4 separate regions of the Homo sapiens genome follow, and all the other regions are linked to region 1. Evidence: promoter capture Hi-C in 16 types of primary human blood cells and fetal thymus (Javierre and others, 2016). All regions are on one chromosome and are shown on one strand. Each heading gives the region's core, a stretch centred on a gene start or on the middle of the fragment in contact. The rest is flanking DNA. Distances are from core to core; before and after follow the strand shown.

Evidence for each region. Contacts are between HindIII fragments. The CHiCAGO score rates a contact against its expected background, and 5 or more counts as called.
Region 2: a fragment that was not itself captured here is called in contact with the fragment with the promoter of FNIP2 in region 1 in 1 of 17 cell types (M2 macrophages); the score reaches 5.4 in M2 macrophages.
Region 3: a contact is called between a fragment that was not itself captured here and the fragment with the promoter of FNIP2 in region 1, in 6 of 17 cell types (M2 macrophages, erythroblasts, megakaryocytes and 3 more). The highest score is 8.7, in M2 macrophages.
Region 4: a fragment that was not itself captured here is called in contact with the fragment with the promoter of FNIP2 in region 1 in 4 of 17 cell types (total B cells, erythroblasts, activated CD4 T cells and 1 more); the score reaches 7.8 in total B cells.

What each region holds. Positions count from the first base shown.
Region 1 is chr4:158,767,700-158,770,338 of GRCh38, forward strand. It overlaps FNIP2 (folliculin interacting protein 2), which reads left to right and starts at 1,327. Exons shown (of 17, transcript NM_020840.3): 1 at 1,327-1,620. The coding sequence starts at 1,514. RefSeq lists a silencer at 1,068-1,277 and an enhancer at 1,235-1,972. The HindIII fragment of the contact is 6,862 bases long and covers 1-2,639 here.
Region 2 is chr4:158,218,805-158,221,443 of GRCh38, forward strand. It overlaps TMEM144 (transmembrane protein 144), which reads left to right. Exons shown (of 13, transcript NM_018342.5): 6 at 506-586. Among named protein-coding and RNA genes, the nearest start is that of TMEM144, 9.6 kb to the left of the region's middle. The HindIII fragment of the contact is 942 bases long and covers 830-1,771 here.
Region 3 is chr4:159,308,893-159,311,531 of GRCh38, forward strand. All of the region lies in intron 8 of RAPGEF2 (Rap guanine nucleotide exchange factor 2), which reads left to right. Among named protein-coding and RNA genes, the nearest start is that of MIR3688-1, 180 kb to the left of the region's middle. The HindIII fragment of the contact is 1,134 bases long and covers 759-1,892 here.
Region 4 is chr4:159,288,967-159,291,605 of GRCh38, forward strand. All of the region lies in intron 7 of RAPGEF2 (Rap guanine nucleotide exchange factor 2), which reads left to right. Among named protein-coding and RNA genes, the nearest start is that of MIR3688-1, 160 kb to the left of the region's middle. The HindIII fragment of the contact is 2,906 bases long and covers 1-2,639 here.

The DNA of each region.
Region 1 (2,639 bases), core at 77-2,576:
AAAGTCCGAAGGAAACAAATGACTAAGTTTCCATTTCTACCACCTTTCTCTTACCTTTGTGAAATTTCAGCACATTATTCACAGCTAGTTCCCAACCAAGTCCAGAAACTAACACAATTAAAAAAAGAAAATGCAAAGTAAAATAGGCCCAGAATAGGTTCTTTTGATTACTTATGTTTTTGGAAATATATTTTCCTTTTTGAGTCTCCAAGAGTCCTCCTCTCAACAAGTGTAAGAGAGCCCAGGTGAGTCACTGTTCACTACTCATGGAGAAGCTAGAAGAGGCATGGTTGGGGTCTTACTAACTTTATCTCTATTTCCCATCATCGGAAAAATTCGTGAAGCCCAACGCTCTAAAACATAGATTAAGAAGTTGCTTTGAGTCTGGTAACGTGTCCTACACTGGCTGTTTAGAGCCCTGCACCACCAAGGATTAAATTCCAAAGGGGACTGGGGTGGGACAGGGCAGGAAAGCGGACTCAAACACATGAACTCCTCCCTTCCTCAAACCAAATATCTGCTGCTGATATGCCTTGATTGACTGTTAAATATGTATTAGGAAAAACAATCCCTTGCTATAAAATATCTTAAGTTTCTAAATCTATGTAGTGAGTTCTGTGTGTGTGTGTGTGTGTGTGTGTGTGTGTGTGTGTGTATGTTTTAAAGGGGGGACTTAATATTTCAAATGCAACTTCTTATATAACCATGGTATGGTGGCCCAAGACGCCAAACAGAACAAATGATTTGGATAAACAGTTTAAATTTTGTGAAAGCCTGGAGGAATCGAATTTGGACATGGAGGAAACCTGACAAAACCTTGGGTGCTATGTGATTCAAATCACAGCCCACCGAAGCGGCCACCGCGCGTACCAAGCCTTCCCCCCTAGCATACGCCTTCTGTGAACGGGCTCTTGTACCTGAACAAAGCGAGGACCCAAGTTCAGGGGCTTTGTCTCTAAAGAACAAAGATCGGCCTAGCTGCATGCTCGCTGTGCGAAAGAACCCAGGCTCCGTGGGAACCCCACGCCACTCGCGGAGCTGCGCCCCGGCGGCCGCCCTCGCCCCTCGGGCCCCTTTAAGTGCCGCGCCTGCCCCCGTCCGCGTCCCCCGCGTGCCCGGAGTACTGGGCCGCCCGCCCGCTCCTGGCCGCACCTCCCACCTCCCGCCTCCCGCCGGGGTTACGTGAGCCCGGGGCGGGCGGCCGCCGGGCCAATGGCCGCCGCCGGGGCCGCCGCGCTCCTCCCGCGCCGCCGCCGCCGCCGTGGGGCTGCGGGCTCCTCCCGCAGGAGATAACTGTCAGCGCGCGAGGCGGTGGCGGGCCGGCTCAGTCATATGACCGGCAGCCGGCGGCTCCGGCGCCGAGCAGAGTTACTCAGTCGCAGCGGCCCCGCGCTCCCGCAAGGCTGGGCGGCCGCGCCGCCGCGATGGCCCCGCCACCGCGGCCGCCGCCCCCGGCTGCGCGCTGAGCCGCCGGCCCCCCGAGCGCCACGGCCGGAGCTGCGGCGGCGGCATCATGGCCCCGACCCTGCTCCAGAAGCTCTTCAACAAAAGGGGCAGCAGCGGCAGCTCCGCGGCGGCGTCTGCCCAGGGCAGGGCTCCTAAGGAAGGACCCGCCTTTAGGTGAGGGGGCGCCGGGGGGCAATTCTGGCGCGGGACCCGAGTTGGCTTCGGTGCTCGCCGGGGAGGGGACGGGTAGGGGAAAGGGAAGGGACTGTCCAGGACGGCGCTGCCTATCGCCGGCACCTGGTCCCGGGCTTGTCAGCGTGGACGCGCCTGATCCGAGTGTGGCTCCGGACCCTCCGTGACCCTTCCTCCCGCTCTTTCTCCACAACTCAGGGTCCTTCCCCATTTCAGAGTTCTCTTGTGTTCCTTGGGGTTCCCGGGCGTGCGCTGTGCTTGGCTGTGGCGACCGGAGATTCTCCGGTTATTGGGGTGAACCCCTTCCGGGCAGAGCCGCCTGGGCACCTCTGCGGGCCCAGCAAAGCTGTGAGCTGTCATTTTGAGGGCAGCTCCAACCTATTGTGTACGTGACAGTGTTTTGAAGTTCTGAAGGAGCAACAGTCACGAAAAAGGCATCTTTCTTCTTTCTTGCCATATATGACAAGCTCTCAAACGGATGAATGAAAGTATGTAATTTCCACATCATGTGGAAGGTTGATGCCGCATGATGTGTGGAAAGGGGGAGTAAGATGCAATTATGAAATTTCCGAGATTTCAATTGATCAAAGCTGATATGTATATTTAATAGATTTGATCTCTCGAACACATACCTTTGAATATTGATAGCATTTATGGAGAGCTTACTACCTAAAATGCTTTATGTTGATTTCTGTCGTTTACTTTTCTGACAATGCGGTGAGGTGGGTGCTATTATAATTCCCATTTTACAGGTGAGGAAACTTAAAGTCACAGATAACTTAGGCGGCTTGCCCAAAATCCAGCTGTCAGTGGTAGAGCCTGTGTTTTGACCCAAGCAGTTTGACCACAGATTCCAGTCTTTAAAATCCCTATGCTATTCTGATTTCAAGGGCTAACTTTTAAAAGACGCCTTAAAATGTCCTATATTGCCTTTGAGCACAGGTATGTTGAGAAGTTTATTTAACAATTTTTCAACACATTTTAAAATTGAGCACCAACTC
Region 2 (2,639 bases), core at 51-2,550, 550 kb before region 1:
ATAAGGTAGGTATAATTATTATCCCATTTTAAACATGGGAGGCTGGGCACGTTGGCTAACGCCTATAATCTCAGCACTTTGGGAGATCGAGGTGGGTGGATCGCTTGATTTCAGGAATTCAAGACCAGTGAAACCCTGTCTCTACTAAAAATACAAAAATTAGCCAGGCGTGGTAACAGGCACCTGTAGTCCCAGCTACTTGGGAGGCTGAGGCAGGAGAATAGGTTGAATTCAGGAGGCAGAGGTTGCAGTGAGCCAAGATCATACCACTGTACTCCAGCCTGGATGACAGAGCAAGCCTCCATCTCAAAAAAAAATTTTTTTTTAATTTAAAAAAATTGGAAATTGAGGCACAGTGAAGATAATTAACTTTCCCAAAGTCACAGCTAATAAGTGAGAGAGCTAGCATTTGAACCCAGGAATCTGGCCCCTAGTCCATGCCCTTAAACATTATGGTGAAACATCTTAACAATATTTAATTTGATGTGACTTTCTGGATTTTCAGGTTTGGCTGGTTTGGATTGGATGCAGAAGAAGTATCAAATCCGCTGCTAAATTACATTGGAGCTGGGCTATCAGTAGTAAGGTACACAGTCATTTCTAGTGATTTTGCTGTTCTTCAAAACATGGAGAGTGCTTTTTTAAGGATCCTGCTATGTTTACATTTTTTAAACCTACATTTCGTAAAATCCACATGCTTGTTCCTCAGATTCTTCATTTACAATGACTGGTTTTAGAGGACAAAAAGTGCCAGATTTGGGGGCAGGGGCAGCCCCAGCTTTAGCTCTCCAAAACTCTGAGAGCCTGGAAAATCATTTAACTGCTCTTAAGCTTAGTTTTATCATCTATAATATGTAGAAAATCATAACACATAGCTTATCAATGAGAATCATATATTTTGCAAACTAAAACATGCTATTCAGAAAAAGCATTCTGCTGGCTTCCTGATGCCCCTGGAGTAGTCACTGATTCTCTCTTCTATGTACTACTCACTTCCTATCTCACCTAGTTTCCACTTCCCCTGTCTCCTCACTCACTCTTCTCAACCTAGCTAGACAGCTCCTCTTTCACCTGTGAGAACACATACTCTTTTGAATGCCCATGTTTGGTTGCATCTGTGTCTAGCTGTATGCACTCTACGAATAAGGGTGAAAATGACTTTGAATCTCTGTATGGCAGTGTTCAGTCCATAAAACTTAACAGGAACTGGGTCACCTTAAATTCAGTCTTCTTTCCCCTCTGGATTCCATTTATATTCCCTGTCAGTTCTTCACATAATGGATAGTACTGCCTAGAAAGATTTTAGTACTTTTTTATTCTTAGGGAAAGAACAGTATATTTGCCTTCCTTCAGCAATGATGGCTTTTCCCCAGGCACATTCAGGAACAATCTCTTTGTCATTGAAATGTTGCCTTAGAGAGTAGTCCCAGGCCAATTGGAGAAAAAGATAACATAAATTATTCTAAAATAGCAGATTCCTGACTTTTTTTGGTTAGAGGCAATTTTATGTATTTTGTATAATTCACACAGAATTCTAGCTCTGAATAGCTCTCTCAAAAACAATTTCTTTACACACCAAAATTGTAACATAGGATGGCTTAGTTTTGACTTAATGACAATTGAAGGCCAGTTTACCCAGTCTATCAGGCATTGTTTTCCTCCATATTTCTTCTTTATTTAGAAAAAGTACATTCTCTAAAATTGCAAATCAATTATTCATGTTCTACCACTTCCACCTATGTGGCCATGGGCAAATAACTTCAGTTCTCCAAGCTTTGGTTTCTTCATTTGTAGAGGGATAATAATAGCACCAACCTCATAAAGTATTTTGAGGGTTAAATGAAATAAAATATGTTTAGTGCTTCATATAGTGCTAATTACATGGTTAATGCTCTACATATTAGTTGCCATTACAATTATTTTATTAATAACATTTATGTTCAATTACTGTTTCCCTGTTGGGTATTTGTTGCCCAACTTTATGTTACAGTAGGCAGTGCACCTGAGGAACCCTGTAGCTCAATTTGAACTTGGTCTGTAGCAGGGAAATTCAAGAACTCTTCCCGTAGTGCATCTAGGCTCCCTTCTATGTTTCTCTGCTAAGAGGAATTTCTGGAATATGTCATTTCATTATTTTAACTCAGTTAAATCAGTTTGTTCTGAAGGGTATTCACTGAATAAACTTGGAGCTTCATGGTCCATGTTTCATGCACTTGAAATAGGGTTGCATTCGTTTAGGATATTGCTTTTCTTTTTAAAATTAAAATTATTGCTTCTATCCTCTGTATAGTCTAATTTTTAAAGGTTGGTTAATTTCTAGTCTTACATTTTCTTTATATGATATACAAAGTGTCTATCAGTCTGTATACAAAACCTCTCCAGGTATTTTAAACAGGAGAGGATTTAACACAGGAAATTGTTTGCAAGACCCAGTTGAGCAAAAGAAGGAAGGTTGTGTCACCCATAACCCTGAAGCCCACACAATACTGCTGAATTGCCTCTGCCTGACCGACTGCTCCTGCTGAAACTACTGGAGGCACCACCAAAACATAATGTCTTCTCCCATCTTCTCAAATGATGCAAGTGCCTCCCCCTGGCAGAACCTAGCTGCCAATAAAGTTTGGGAAATGTAATTTTCA
Region 3 (2,639 bases), core at 76-2,575, 540 kb after region 1:
GAGTTTTAAGGAGAGAGAAGTTTTGAAATAATAGTTGCAGAGAGTAGGAGAACAAATTGACCAGAGAAATGGAGATTCAATTGAGTTAGTGCCCTCAAATATAAAGTGATTTCCCTCTGCTCTGTTAAGTAGCTTTCTCCACAGTAAGCACAAAGAAAGCAAGGATTTGACTTCACCCAGGACTGAAGTTTGTTAAGTGAGTGTAATACAAAGACAGGTCGAGCAACAAGGCAAGCGTTTTCTAACTGCAGATCATAGCTTTTGTATGCCTTCTGCCTGGAATGTTTTCTCCTAGCTTGATCCTTTTCAGCCTTTGTTTTCAAGTGTCATCTCCTCAGAGTTGTTCCTTTATAATCCTCTGTAAAGGAAGTCCTCCATTTTGATTCCTTTCCTGCCTAATCTTTTTATTTCCTTCCTAGACGCCAATTGAACCAATTATTAATTTTTATGTTATCTCTCTGCCTAGAAGAATGACACCTTCAAGAAGGCAGGGAACTTGTCTCTCTTGTCTCTATTTTTTCCCCTAGAGCCTAGCACAGTGCCAGGAAATTTTAGGCATTCAGTAAAGATGTGTTGAATGAATGTAATTGAAATAATAGACTAGGGAATATAAGCTGGATATGAAAGGAAGACAGGTGTGAACACTAGACACAGAAGGTAGTAGAGTCTTGAGTGAAGATCCTTCTTAAGTTGAAAAAGGGTTACCTTAGAAGCAGATGGGGGCAGGTTGAAAGAATAGAAGGTTGTTGGTGATTGAAAGCTTTAATGCCTAAGTTAGTAATACGAGACAATGCCATTTCCAGCCATGATAAGGTCCTGGTTAAATGGTATGGCCATCAGGATCAGAGCGAGTGGCTTAGGCAAACCGGAAATAGTTGTACAAAATAGATAGATCAATAGAACAGAGAGTTCAAGCAAAATTGAACTCATGTGTAAGGATGTAATATGTAATAGAGGAAACTTCACAAATCAATAAAGAAAGTGATGGATCATTCAATAAATGGTCTTTGGGGTTGGGGAATCATTTTGTATTCTTATTTTGTATCATAATTAAAATAAATTCCTGATAAACTAAAGAGTTAGCAAACAATGTTTTAATAAAGGATCAAAACATTTTGTAATTAGAACATCAATTGATAAGAAGATTTAAAGTCAGAATATAACTGATTTACACAAATAAGAAAAATACTCAGCTCACAATGTTAAAATGTTCAAAGGACAGTAGTTGGTAACTTACAGAAACGAAAATGCAAATGTCTACACCTTAAGTATTTGAAACATAATAGTAATTGAGCATATAAGGACTTAAATATGAAATTATTCTGCCTATCAAATTAGCACAGATTTTCTTACTTAAAATAAGCATTTATAGACATTTTTATATACTCCTCGTAGGATTGTAATTTTGGGGAAGCAACCTAACGATTTACATTAAGAGCTTTAAAAAATTGTTCTTCTCTTTTAGGCATATATATGCTTTTAATAAGCAAAACTTTTTTGGCAAGTGATTTTAAAGTGCTTACTGATAAAACATGCAGTATTTGATTTTTATTTTAGTTAAATTAATACTTCAGTAGAGCTTTATGGCATAAAAATTTTTTTGTTTGTGAATTTTCTTGATTTTTTTTAAAAAATGTAAAATAAATTGGTTTTAAGAACTGTGTTCACAATAGCAGAATGTATTTAGTCCCTTTTGATTTAAATAGTGGAGCTTTCAGCATTGATCTGAGAATATTGTTTTTAAAAGAATATCACTATTTAAATATTAATGGACAACAAAATCTATGTTAGTCAGTACCTGTATAAGATAAATTAATTTAAGACAGGAGTTATTTGGCTAACATAACTATGTAAACCTTTCTCCTTGTTCCTGAAACAAATATATCCAGATAAGCTTTTAAATATAAAGCGTCTGTTTTAGTGTCTTTATTTAGAAAAAAAGGGTTTAAAGACATGCGTGAGTCTTAGTAGTGTTGTTATTTGGAGGAAGCTAGAAAACAATAAGTGTTATGTTCATAGGCAAATATGTATTTAAACTTTTTATCTTTTATGACTTAGCAAAGTGGAAAACATTTTATTACTGTATTATATTTCAATTTTTTTTTATAAGACTATTGAGAATGTCGAGCAAAGTGCAGAGTACTTAGTATTTCTTGGTTGGTCACACCTGATTTTGAGTCCTAGCACAGTTACTGTGTTTTGTTTTGCTTACATTGAACAACTTATTTAATGTCCTTGACATTTTCTCCTCTGTAAACTAGGGTTAGTAATACTAACTTGCTGAATTGATATGAAGATTATTATGTTTTAAAACATCAACTTTAGTGCTAGACACATATGATAGTCATTCAATATAGGATCACTATTTTTATAATTGGTGTATGAACCAGTTGACCAGAATGTATTTGTGCAGTTAGTCTAAGATACTATTTTACAAATATATAAGGAGAGTGTGGTGTTTAACAGAATTTTGTGGGGTTTTTTGGTCAAATTCCACAAATATAAATTGCGTGCAGCGTTCATTGCTGCTATGGGGAGAGGTAGAAGGTGTACAAGTTCTAAGATGAAGAAAGTATCCCCTTGAGGAAGGGACTTTTGATCTAGCTTGAGACTGGCTTGCTTTCTCCCTTATTTGATCC
Region 4 (2,639 bases), core at 102-2,601, 520 kb after region 1:
TAGTATCCTCTCCATTCCCAGCCATCACCATCTATTACATGCTCTTCTTGTGGTATTGTCTCTACAGTACTTACTGATAGCTGAAATCTTTTTTTAAAATTTTTTATTGTTACATATTCCTCCTTTCCCCTTCTCCCCTCAAGCCCCTCCTCTCTTTAAGGGTGTAAGTTTCAGGGAGCAGGGATTTTGCTAATCCTAGTCATTGCCATATCACTAGTTCCTATAACAGTGACCGGCTTGTTACAGGATGTCAGTAAATACTTGTTGGATAATTAAGTAGATGAATGAATCTTATGGTTCTGAGTAACTTTATATATCTTCATCTGACAGGCTTCTTGTTGAGATCTATGATAGGAAGTTAAAAATATGTTGAGTTCAGAAGTTTTGTCATTAATTTTTTTGATGCTGGCTTCCAGGAAGGCTAAACTAAATTTATTGCATAACTACAGTTGCTGTTCATTGTGTTTTAGTTTTATTCTGGTGATCTTACCTATAATTGCTGATGGAAGGGGGTGACTATAGAGCTGGTAAGGAAAAGAACATTGGGATCAAACAGTCCCTGTTCAATTTCTCTCAGCCTCAATATCTTCTACTTTAAACTAGGTAGGGTTACCAGTTCAATGATCTGCTCATTAAATACTTACTATACCTTAGGTACTATATGAGAAGCTAGGAAAAGAGTGATGAAAAAGACACACCTAGAGAGGGCATTGGATTATTAAATCAGCAGCTACTGTAAAGGTATTTAAGTTCTGTGACAGGCAGCATTCTGGGTATCACAGGAACATCTTACAAGAATTTCTAACTTCAGGAGGAGGGTTCAGAGAATTAGCCAGGCCAGGGGTGAGAGTGTTCTTCCCGGAAGAGGGAACAATGAAGACCCAGGAGGAGATACAGAGTATCTCGCTGTATTTAAAATAACCAGAAATAGATTTATATATTTAGTACAGAGGCTGAGGGGAAGAGAAGTGAGTGTGAGAAGATCAAAAGGAGAAGACAGTGGGGTGCAGTGGTTAGGAATATAACTTTTTCCAAAGGGAAAGAGAAGCCACTAAAACATTTTAGGCAGGGGAGTGACAGGATCAGGTGTGTATTTTCCTATCGTGTTTTAAAAGTTTACTTCTGGCTGCGACATGAAGAAGAGGGTGTTACAAGAAGCAAGATAGGACAGTGGTAGTACAGTGGCACCACAGTGAAGTGGGTTCATATTTGTAAATCCCCTCTCAGAGTGCTGTCACACATAGTGGGAGCTTGGTCAATTTTTTAAGTTCTGGGTTTTCCTAAGGTGAATTGAGGCTGTGTAACTTCAAGGTTATGGAAGTTAAACTTTTTGTATCTAAAGGCATTTTCAAAGTATTCCTGCTTTTGTGTATGTGCATGCATGTGCACTGACACCACAGATTTTATTTAACCAGTCATCAGGTTCTCTGAATGGATTTTAATGAAAGCTACTCTGTTTCCCTGATTTCAACCTAGGATGATACATCAGTATGCATACACATACACACTTAACAGAAACATTTAGAGAAAGTAGCTGAAGTTGAGGAAGGTAAACCACAGCTTAATACAGCAATAGAATATTAAAAGTTTGTATTAATTTGGGAAGAATGTACTTTCTAAGAGAGTTACTCAACTGGTGATGTAAATCAATCATGGCAGGTGACTGAGAAAGTCATGAAAAGTGCTGGAGCATTGGCAGAAGTGAGGGGGTCTCTTTTAGGTAATGTGTGCTTGACGATGTCATAGTCATTCAGACTATTCATTTAATGGCATGTGTCTAAGGTTTACAAAAAAAAAAAAGATGAAGGAAAAGAGAAAAATCTATTAGACTTCTTGCAGTTTATGAGTATATATTCCTGCTGGCCCTAGACAGTGAGTAATGCACCACAAATGTTCAGTCAGTTCTTGTATAGTGCCCTCCCGACAGCCAAAGCAATGAGATTACCTGGCATGCCAGGGTTGACACATGAAGCCTTTGAAAATAAATGTGAAATTAAATTCTTATCATTGAAATCCTTAGAAATAAATCCTAACATGGATATCTTTGTCACAGAAGTAAAAGGAAAAATTGATAGACACATAACATGAATACCCAGTGTTTTTGTTAGCAACTTAAGAAGGGTAACATAATTATTTTTTGTCTTAAAGATTATTGTCTAGCTCAGTTGTAATACCCGTCACTAGAAAAGGAGTACCTGTGGTGGTGGTTGTTGCATAAAATCTAGAAGCAAATTTTTAGAGGTAGGATCTGAGATGTCATTTAAAATCAAGGTAGTTTCCTGTGTATGTGTGAATATATACATCTGTGTGTGTGAGGATTGGGTGGAGATTAGTAATTATTTTTATCATTTTTTGAGACAAGGTTTCACTCTGCCATCCAGGCTGGAGTGCAGTGGCGCAATCACAGTTCACTTGACTTCCTAGGCTCAAGCAATCCTCCCACCTCAGCCTCCTTAGTAGCTGGGACTACAGACGTGTGTCATCACACCCGGCTAATTTTTGTATTTCTTGTAGAGACAGGGTTTTGCCATGTTGCCCAGGCTGGTCCCAAACCCCTGGACTCAAGCTATCCTCCCACCTCAACCTTCCAAAGTGCTGGGATTACAGGCATGAGCCACCATGCCTGACCAGACAATTTG